2 separate regions of the Homo sapiens genome follow, and region 1 is linked to region 2. Evidence: promoter capture Hi-C in 16 types of primary human blood cells and fetal thymus (Javierre and others, 2016). All regions are on one chromosome and are shown on one strand. Each heading gives the region's core, a stretch centred on a gene start or on the middle of the fragment in contact. The rest is flanking DNA. Distances are from core to core; before and after follow the strand shown. Region 1 has its middle 30 kb from the start of IGFL4. Region 2 holds the start of IGFL1 (IGF like family member 1).

What was found. Contacts are between HindIII fragments. The CHiCAGO score rates a contact against its expected background, and 5 or more counts as called.
Region 1: a fragment that was not itself captured here is called in contact with the fragment with the promoter of IGFL1 in region 2 in 2 of 17 cell types (M0 macrophages and M1 macrophages); the score reaches 5.8 in M0 macrophages.

Annotation. Positions count from the first base shown.
Region 1 is chr19:46,068,115-46,073,504 of GRCh38, forward strand. It overlaps a transcript of IGFL4 not described here. Among named protein-coding and RNA genes, the nearest start is that of IGFL4, 30 kb to the left of the region's middle. The HindIII fragment of the contact is 5,358 bases long and covers 1-4,328 here.
Region 2 is chr19:46,227,289-46,232,483 of GRCh38, forward strand. IGFL1 (IGF like family member 1) reads left to right here and starts at 2,454. Exons shown (of 4, transcript NM_198541.2): 1 at 2,454-2,511; 2 at 2,820-2,873; 3 at 2,986-3,229; 4 at 3,533-3,955. The coding sequence starts at 2,487. The coding sequence ends at 3,542. RefSeq lists an enhancer at 1,802-3,001. The HindIII fragment of the contact is 5,684 bases long and covers 1-4,571 here.

The DNA of each region.
Region 1 (5,390 bases), core at 400-2,899, 160 kb before region 2:
CAAGAGGGGACCCTGCTCTGTTCTCCATCTCTCCACCTTTTGTCACAGATGCTCTTCAACCAATTCCGCCACCATGTGTCACCATGTGTCTCTGAACACAAATCTTAAACAATCTCTTTATCTCTCCAGATGAAGAAAGACCCACCAGGGCAGACAGAGCTGATGTTTCCTTGCAGTGGCTTAGACAGTAATCTGAGGTCCTGGGATACAGGGTACATTAAGATATTAAAGACCTCGAGCTCTGAGTGTCGAATCTCATCATGATGGAATCCAACATAAAACAAGACTGAATGCAAACATGATGCTTAATTGTGTGCGGAATTGAAAAAAATAGTTCTCAATTTTTTTGCTTGCAAATTGTGGGATACGTTTACCAGATTTGAACTTTTCCCTTATTTGTCATCCCGCTTTGTTGATTCTGTAACCAGGGGCTTGGGATTCATTTTGGGGATCCCAAAGCCCTTGTTTGTTGAAGGGTTTCAAAGTCTGGTAGGAGGGTGGTGCACACACAGATAGAATTGTTCATCTGTGGGCGGCCTCTGACTCCCTCCCTGGGTAGGCCTCCAGGCCCAATCCTTCCTTCTGAGGAACCGCCGGGAAAGACTTTGATCAAAACAATTAAATGCATTGGGAGCTCAGTCTGAGGCAATTATGTGGTTTCATAGAGGAAGAGGTAGAGATGACTCAGGCATTTCTGGCCCCATGTCAGCCTCAGGGCAATCACATTCGGGATTTTGCAAAAGACACATTCACTCTGAGCACTGGAGACCTACATCTCTTTGTCCAGTTGACTTAAGTTCTCACCAAGTGAATATCTTCATGCTAAAGACAGTTTCATTTGTGATTAGGGACAGGAGAGCATGTTTCCCCTCGGTCCTCTGATTCTGACTGGAGGGGCAGTGCTGAGTTCTGGATCGGGGCTGCTGGCAGTACGTGGGAAAGCTGTCCTATCAGTACTGTATAGAACAGGTGGTCAGAGAAAATGCCTCCCTGGAAAACCTTTTCACATGGTTGAATGTCCCCAGACATGAGAGGGAGTGGAGGACTTTGTTCTAGAGCCCACCTCAGAGGCCAGGCACTGCCAATGCCATGAGCAAAATCTTCCACCTCTTTCCCCCAATTTTCTCTCCATCTGGATTCTGTGTTGCTGAGGTCATTTGCTCTGTCTCTTCCTACCCTCTGTATTCTTCTCTCTCATCTGACTGACTTTTCTCACTCAATTTTCAAATATCACCTAAAATAATAATACAGATAAGAAACAAATGTATTCTAATGAAAATGTTCAGTCTGAGAAGTAAAGATTACATGGTGAGCATTGATAATTTTTATCATGCTTCCTACCCTCCCCAAAGGTAACTGCATTTAAGATGTAGTGTTTGTATTTTTCCATAAATTCTGTATAGTTGAATACATATAAGTCTACATATATGCCACACTTTTCCCTTCTTATAAATAAGATATCATACATCCCCCCCTTGAAGCCCTAAAAGCCCACAGATCACAGATAATTCTCATGGCTGCCTAGATTTCTATTTTATGGATAAATTGTAATTTATTTCATTTGTCTTCTTTTTGAAAATTATGTAGGTTGTTTGCAATATTTCAGCCTTACCCTAAAAATTCTGCAACAAATATTCTTGTATGTACATATTTGGGCACTTTAATTAGAGTGTTTAGTCAACAGCAATAGATGTGAAAATTCTGAAGCAAATTGTGTAAGATGCTCTGAGCCATATGCATAGGGAAAAATCTAAACAATAGATTAGACTAAAGCAATAAACATGAATGAACAGGTTCAGGGTTTCAGTTTTAAGAATTGAAACATATTTTGAATGGCAGCCAGTAAAATGCACTGACTCCAAACACTTCAAACAAGACATTCCTGTTATCAGGAAGGTTAGGAGGGTAACGCTTGTTTTGTTCACTAAGCTGGGTGGACTCATGATTACTGAAGCAATACTCATTTCTGCTTTAGTCTCCTATGTTTGCATCCCATGAAGCTCAAATACGAATTGAAGCAAATCTCTAAGATTTTTTTTTTTTTGCCTTATCTCCTAAAACTTGAGGAATGCATGTGTTCTTAGTGATTCACATCCACGGGACAAAAACTCAAGGAGAAATAAGAGCTGACGTCATGCAAGTCTTGGCTGCTTTTGTTACTATACATTTTCTCTGAGAGTCCAACAGACTTCGGGCTGGAACTTGGCACTGGAGACTCATGTTCGGAATCATAGGGGAACATCTGGCTGTTAATCACTTGCACAATTTAGAACATTTCCTTTACATTGGCTTTAAATTCTAGCCCTTATTTCATTTTGTAGTCTTATTTTCTTTCTTCTGCATGCTCACAATACCAAGCATTAAATGTATTTTAATAACTAAAAAAAAAAAGGAATTTTATTTCTGGTGGTGTTACTAATGGTTGTGTGATTGTGCAGAGTCCAGAAAGCTGCTGACTTAACTACCCATCACCCAGCTCAAAACGCCCAATCCCCTCTTAGGTGAAAAGTGATGACCATACAGATATTTAAAGGAGAAGCACCCTCACTTACAACATCAGAGGGTCAAATCTACAGGCTCATCAGCTGTCCTACATTTTGTCAAAATAAAGCTCCTCTCAAACATGGAGGCACATCGGCAGTTCATGGAGCCAGAAGTACCTACTTCACCCTCTCTCTTACATGGGTGGGCCTGAAGTACTCCTTATCAGGGCATCTGGACTCTATTTTGGGTGTGTGCAAAGTGTTTTGAAGGGTTTTTCTTGGTCGATGTTTTGTATTTGGGGGAAAAATTAATCATCCTCAAATTGAATCGCCTAATCACCAGGTGACCCCAGGTGATGGCATGGCACCATACTCTCCAGAGGTCTGCGATATTTGCCCAGTGGAGTACAGCTCCCAACAAGCCTGCGGTCCTCCATTCATGATGCTCTCTAGAATCCCAAGATGGCGTTTGTTTGCCTGCATGGGATTCACCTTCCATGACTCTCAGGAATCAGGAACTCAAAAGACATGATCCTGTTTTTTTTTTTTTCTTTTTTTCTCTGCCTATGTGTATCAGCTCAGCCAACCTCCTCAATGTGCTTTCCCTCACGCCAGCGGCACACCAGCAAGTCAGCAAAGTTCAGGGGCTCAGTATGCACTGAATGAGGACACAAGTCTTATTTGCCTCTCCCTTGACTATGTTGGGGGTAAGGAGAAGACACAGCCTCTCTGCAAGCACAATACTCTTCCCTGAAAGGCCACCCTCTTTCTGGTTTCCAGTACTCCTCTTATATCACTAGTATCACTAGTTGGTTCTGCTTCTCTCCCATCCAGGGATCTGGAGAAGTTTCATATCAAATAAACATAAACACACGAATAAATGGGTGTGGTCCTGGAACCAAATAAATAATCTTCATTGAAGTGGGGATGGGGAGGTGTAAGACAAAGACAGTAGTGACTTGCATTAGACAGGAGGTAGTGTGAAACCACGACTCCTGAAACTGTAAGCCTGGTCTGCTGATCATGGACACCAGCAGAATGAATTCATAAGTTCAAGTGGTGGAATAATATTTTTACAGAGGTAAAAGAAAATAACAGCCAACAAAGACCTTTCTAAAATAGCCTTCAAAAATGGTAAGGAGGTTGGGCACGGTGGCTCACGCCCGTAATCCCAACACTTTGAGAGGCCAAGACAGGTGGATCACATGAGTCCAGGAGTTTGAGACCAGCAACTCCTGGGCAACATGGTGAAACTCCATCTCTACAAAATAAAAAATTAGCCAGGCATGGTGGCACATGCCTGTAGTCCCAGCTACTCGGGAGTCTGAGGTGGGAGGATGGCTTGAACTTGGAAGGCAGAGGTTGCAGTGAGCTGAGATGACACCACTGCATTCTAGCCTGGGCTACAGAGTGAGACCCTGTCTCAAAACAGAAAAAAATGAAGCTGAGGATTCTCCAACTTACAGCCATTAAGGGCAGTGACTTCAACGAGACTACTTTTCCTGCTATTGACAACAGTAAAACTGGATGAACCAAATGAGGCCACTGTTTTCAGGTGGTGAACGAAGACAGGATAAAATATCAATCTCTGAAAGTAAAGTCACAGAGTGAACACCTGGATATTTGGACTCTGCCTGGGGACAGTTTCCCAACGGAAGTGCAAGTAGCAAGGATCTGAGTATAGCACAGCAGTTCCGCAGAACTAAGGTTCTGGATGGCTTGATGGAACTGGAATCCCTTAGGTGTGGCATCAGTGAAGAAGTGCGAGCCCCCCAAATCCACGTGGGGTCCACCAAAGTTCCTGGATGAAGACTGGTCTGCACATGCACATTCTAGACCACCCAAAGCTTAGCAGAGAGGTAAGTCTTAAGAAGTATTTGTCTCATTTATACCCATGGGATTTTAATCAATGGAGGTAATGACAGGGAGATGCCAATGCCATTGAAATATGTTTAATGTCACTCACAGTTTCGGTAGAAATTAGAGGCACAGAATGTGAAGCAGGGGCATGTGGGGAAGCCCCAGGTGTGATCAGGAGACAGAGGCAGGAGTGAGCAAAAACCTAGGCCAGAGCCCTTATGATGTGTTCTGTGGGAAAGGCAGAACAGGGCAGGAGATGCAGCTCACAACTGGTCAGTTTGAATAATATTGGCAGGGTGTGAAATATAGTGGCAGCCTCTAGTTGTCTGGTACCTGGCCCTGGGTTGACTTAGGGCAGAGAAAATGTTGGCTTGGTGTGTAAGAGAGATAAAGGAGATGGTTCAGAGCGGGGGCTCTGGATCTCGGGGGAGATGCAGATACCTTTGGCCATGAGTTAAACCCCGTAGTTAATGGATACCAAATAGAGAAATACAGACTCAAGAAAACACAAAGCACTATCCCAGTTGGGAGAGCACAAAGGAGACATTATCAAAAGTAATGTGGGATTCTGGATTGGATCCTGGAGCAGGAAGTGGACAGGAGGGGACTACCAACAAAACTAAAATAAAGCCTGTAGATTCAACATTCATTTCCTACTTTCAATAATTGTATTAGGATCATTTAAGATGTTAACATTAGACGAAGTTGGGTGAAAGATCAAAACTCTGTACTGGCTTTACAACATTCTTGTAAATCTAAAATTATTTCAAAATGGCAGGTTAAAAAGTATTTTAAATGATACCTACAAAATACTATCATGATAGTGATAGTGAACACTCACTAAAGATATGATCAGGATGCCCTAATAGGCCTCCTTATTCTTGTAATTGCAATTAGAGTTCCTTCTTTCCTTAATATTATGTAACTGGAGCTCCCTTGAGCTATTTCTAGCCTGGGGTATAATGTCTGACTCATACACATGTAGTTTCATAGGAAGCCTTGGGGCCCTAGCAGAATAACACTATCACCCACAAGATAACCAGCCAG
Region 2 (5,195 bases), core at 1,204-3,703:
ACCTTAGGAAGGTGCAGGGACAGGGTTTGAACGCAGGGCTGACTGACCCTAAAGCCTCCTCATGTCTAATTGGGGGCTCTTAGTGTCCAGGGAGCCCTGGACGGGTGCCCACTGGCCTCACACTGTCCCAGCCTCCGAGGCCTCCATGATCTGCTAAAATCTCCCTCTACCTTCCAGATGCTGCATTGACTCAGCTGCTCTGAGAGGCCAGGAAGGAGCAGCTGGACTCCTCCCTCCTCAGAGGTGCCCACCTTGCCCCTGCCCTGGGGAAGGTGCTCCACTCTCTCACTCTGGCTCATATGCAGGCAGCCTTGCCTCTTCTTGGTAGAGACAGTAAGACCAGTGCAGGGCTCCACTGCAGCCTCCCAGAAAATGCCTGGAACCAAGGACCTGAGAACTCTACCCCTTTATGGAAGACATCAAAGGGGAGACATGTCAGTGGCTCTTAGAGAAGAAGGAGATGATCCTGGAGGCTTCTGTGCTCCCAAGTGTCCTCACCATTTGGCTGTGACTCCCTCCAGAAACTAGATATCTAGTTCTAGATATGTGCTATGCTATCATATAATAATATCATACGATAGAACAATATAATAATATTCTATCATTACTTGGAATATACACAGTCCCAATAAGAGGGTCCTAAACAGGCTGGGCGCAGTGGCTCACACCTGTAATCACAGCACTTTGGGAGGCTGAGGTGAGCAGATCACTTGCGGTCAGAAGTTCAAGACCAGCCTGGCAAATACGGTAAAACCCCATCTCTATGGAGAATACACAAATTAGCCGGGTGTGTTGGCGGGCATCTGTAATCCCAGCTACTCAGAGACTGAGGCAGGAGAATCACTTGAACCTGGCAGGCAGAGGTTGCAGTGAGCCAAGATCGTGCAACTGCACTCCAGCCTGGGCAACTGAACAAGGCTTCATCTCAAAAAAATAAATAATTTTTTTTAAAGTGTCATAAACAGTTGAGCACAGCATTCTGTTGAATGCACACTGTCCCATTTTCTAACCCATTTCTTCACTTAAAAATAACATTGTTTATGCCCAAGTAAATTGATTTTCCATGCTACTAGCACATCCTAATCTGTGTCCTAGAAAACACTGCTGTACCCCACAGCAGCAAGGAACAGAGGCCAAGGGAGCAGACAGGGAGATGGTGCTGGAAGCAGGGTCTGCTCTGTCGAGGGAGAAGGTGGGTGCTGAGCACTCTGGTATTTATTGAAGTCATTTCTCTGCAGCCTCTTCCTGTGTCTCCTGCCTCCAGAGAGAAGCCCCTATCCGTGCTCCCCAGGAACACAGATGCAGGATCTTCCACACACACAAATCTAACCACATCCATGCCCTGCTAGGAGCCAGCCATGGTGCCTAGAGGGTGACAGGTCACCTTGCCTGGCCCGGAGGAGAACGGCTTGTCCATGCCATGTGTGGCCTGTGAGCTTGAGCGGAGGAATTCCTGCAGAAGCTGGGCAGGGGTAGGGGGGCACAGAACTGACCCAAAACAGCTCCTTCCCCTCTGTCCTCACATCCTGACCCCAAGATGGCTCTTCTCAGGGAAAATCACAACCCAACCCTCTGAAAAAGCACATTAAGGAAAAACACCTTTGAGAATCTCAGGGGGGGATGTGGAATTTCTCCACCAGAACTTCACAGTGATAATGACACCAAACACAAGAACGACAATAACCAAAATCAGGAGTTTTATTCTCCTACCTTCTCTCTCTCTCTCTCTCCTCTCACTGTCATGAACGTCACGAAGACACTGACTTTGCGTTTTCTACTCAGCACTGCATCACTGGTGTCTGACACGAAGCCTGGGACATGTAGGCTCCCAAGTGGACCTGTCCTGGGTAAATGACCATTAATGAGACAGAGAAGGAGATGAAGAGCCCCCAGAGGAGTGTTGAGTCCCAGGGGTCCCGCCAGCTCCACTCCCACCTTCCAAACCTGTGAAAGTCAGGTGCCTGAGTCACACAGTCTCTCCCACCTGAATGCCATGAGCTGCAGGTGACTGAGAAGTTACTGGATTCTTGACCATGTGTTTCGGTTGTGAGGTTGGGACCTAATGGGACCCTTTGAAATGATGTCATGGGTTAGCAATGTCCCAAGGAAACTGAGGAAAGTCATAGCTCAGTAGGATCCTGTGGAATCGCTGTGTGGACATGTGAGTGTCGGAGAGTGTTAATGCCAGGAGCATCCTGAACCTTCCTATTTTCCAGAGGACTCAGTGTGGGGGACGATTGGGGCACATAGCACAGAGAAGGTGGAGGGTGTACCGCTTCTCTCCTGATTACAAAGGTGAGATCAAAGCTACAATGACACGTACCCTGCCTGGCACCTCTCCTGCCCAAGGACCCAGCCTGTCTCTGCAGGACTTGCAGGAGGGCAGGAAATGCCATGACATCACCAGCTCCACTAGAAATATGGGATAAAAGGAGTGGCTGAGATCTGCTGATCCCCTCCTCACTCCACTGCAACCACCCAGAGCCATGGCTCCCCGAGGCTGCATCGTAGGTAAGGAGGACAGGACCCCATTCCCACCTGAGCCCATCTCCAATCTCAGCCACCACCAGGGCTCTCTCCCTACCCCAAACTACACCTCATCCCTGTTCCCATGCCCAGCCAAATCTCCAGGCGTGAATTGCTCACAGCAATTCCCCATCCATAGTGCCCAGATCAGCCCCATCCACAGCCCTGTTTCAGTCCCTGAGCTGCTCAAAGCCATACCGAGCCCTGGTTCCACCCAGTCTTCTTCTAAATGTCAGTGCCAGTCATATCTGTGGCTGTCCACTCACCCCATCTTCCCTTTCCCTTTCCCACAGCTGTCTTTGCCATTTTCTGCATCTCCAGGCTCCTCTGCTCACACGGAGCCCCAGGTGAGCCCAGGAGTGTTTGGGAAGCTGGAGGAGGGGTACACCTTCCAGGGGACCCCAGGCTGGGACCCACCTGCCACTACCTCCTGGATCTCACCAGCTCTGTCTCCTCCAGTGGCCCCCATGACTCCTTACCTGATGCTGTGCCAGCCACACAAGAGATGTGGGGACAAGTTCTACGACCCCCTGCAGCACTGTTGCTATGATGATGCCGTCGTGCCCTTGGCCAGGACCCAGACGTGTGGAAACTGCACCTTCAGAGTCTGCTTTGAGCAGTGCTGCCCCTGGACCTTCATGGTGAAGCTGATAAACCAGAACTGCGACTCAGCCCGGACCTCGGATGACAGGCTTTGTCGCAGGTGAGTCCTGTCCCCTCCGTGGGATTGTGGGTGCAGGGTAGCTGCATGCCTGTTCTGCCCTGGGTGGAGCCCCCATTCTCCTTGTCTCCCTGTCTCTGCCCCCTGCTTCTATTCAATCCACCTCTCCCTTTCCCTACACCTGTGTCTCCATCCATTTTTATTTCCCTCTCAGAATCTCACTCTCTCTACCCCGCTGTCCTCTCCTCCTGGCTCTCCTGTCCTCATTTCTGCCCATGTTCAGTCTCGCCCCCATCTCTGGCCATCTCTGTCCCGCTCAGTGTCTCTCTCTGTCACTATCTCCAGTGTCAGCTAATGGAACATCAGGGGAACGATGACTCCTGGATTCTCCTTCCTGGGTGGGCCTGGAGAAAGAGGCTGGTGTTACCTGAGATCTGGGATGCTGAGTGGCTGTTTGGGGGCCAGAGAAACACACACTCAACTGCCCACTTCATTCTGTGACCTGTCTGAGGCCCACCCTGCAGCTGCCCTGAGGAGGCCCACAGGTCCCCTTCTAGAATTCTGGACAGCATGAGATGCGTGTGCTGATGGGGGCCCAGGGACTCTGAACCCTCCTGATGACCCCTATGGCCAACATCAACCCGGCACCACCCCAAGGCTGGCTGGGGAACCCTTCACCCTTCTGTGAGATTTTCCATCATCTCAAGTTCTCTTCTATCCAGGAGCAAAGCACAGGATCATAATAAATTTATGTACTTTATAAATGAATGCTGTAGAATTCATGAATTAGAGAGCTTGGACTGTTGAAAGGGGTCACAGAGGGTGACGTGGGGCCCCTTCTCTCTGTCACCCTGAGGCATCTGGGCCTTTCCATTTGTTCTGTTCGTGCACACACTTATTTTCTCTTTTTCCATTTATTTTTAAATTTATTATTTTGTTATTTGTGCTCGGTGACTAGGACCCTGGCCGCACCTGGGACAGGGGCCACCCTCCTACACCAGCCTCCACCACCCCATGGCTCCCTGAACCCAGTCACAACATCGGGAGCAGCCCAGGTGGGGTGGGGAGGAGGTGGGGATCGCGAGAGGGCTTCGGAGAGGCACTCCCTCTCCCACCAGTTCTGGGACAGAACAGGACCCGGCTGTTTGTTCTTGATGTACGTTAAGGAGATGCAGACAGACTGGGAAAGAACGGAGGTTCTTTCTCCAACTGGCTATGGGGAGAAGGTCAGAGTAGCTTACCAGACCAACTCAAAGCTACAAACTTCTTTTTCTAGTGCTTATATGCATTCTAAGCTCCACGCCTATGTGCGGAGTGCACCTGCAAGACAGCGTGTTTCATTCTTATCAATATCTAATCTTTAACTAGTGTCCAGGGTCTGGAAAGCTTTCTCCAGAGTCTTGGAAAGTTTCTTAATCTTAAATGGACCCCAGTATGAGGAATATGTGGAAGAATGCTATTATTATTTGATCAGATTTTAGGGTCTGAGAAAACCCAGCTGGGGTTTTAATGGGCTTGTTTTCTCATTCCCGCCCTCATCCCCAGGCACTAGTTTATCCAGTTCTATAATGTTTAAGGTATGCATTCATCAAAAATAAAGTTTAGTGGAAACTGACTCTTCTGGTCGCTAACAGAAACCTGATCTGCCACACACCCATCCCAGGCACGCGTCCCCTGGGATCGTGGAAAACCCACTGGGCAGGTCCAACGCCCAGAGATGCCACACTTAGTCTGACTTTGGGCCAAAGCTGGAGCCTGAGAGGGAGTGGGTGGGGCGGGGTGTGGAGGATGTGGGCTATGGAGGAGCCCTCGGGTTTGGAAGGAGGAAGCAAAGGCTGGCCAAGGCACCTGAAGCACATTCTTCAGGCCCTGTGCCAGGGACAAACCCTCGTGGCCAGTGCTGATGTGGAATAGATCGCAGGGAGGGGGCCACGCTGCTGCTTACCCAACCCAGAAGCAGGTTCCTTAGGGAGCGTTCAGCCCTAGGGTCTCCACCAACCTGGATTCC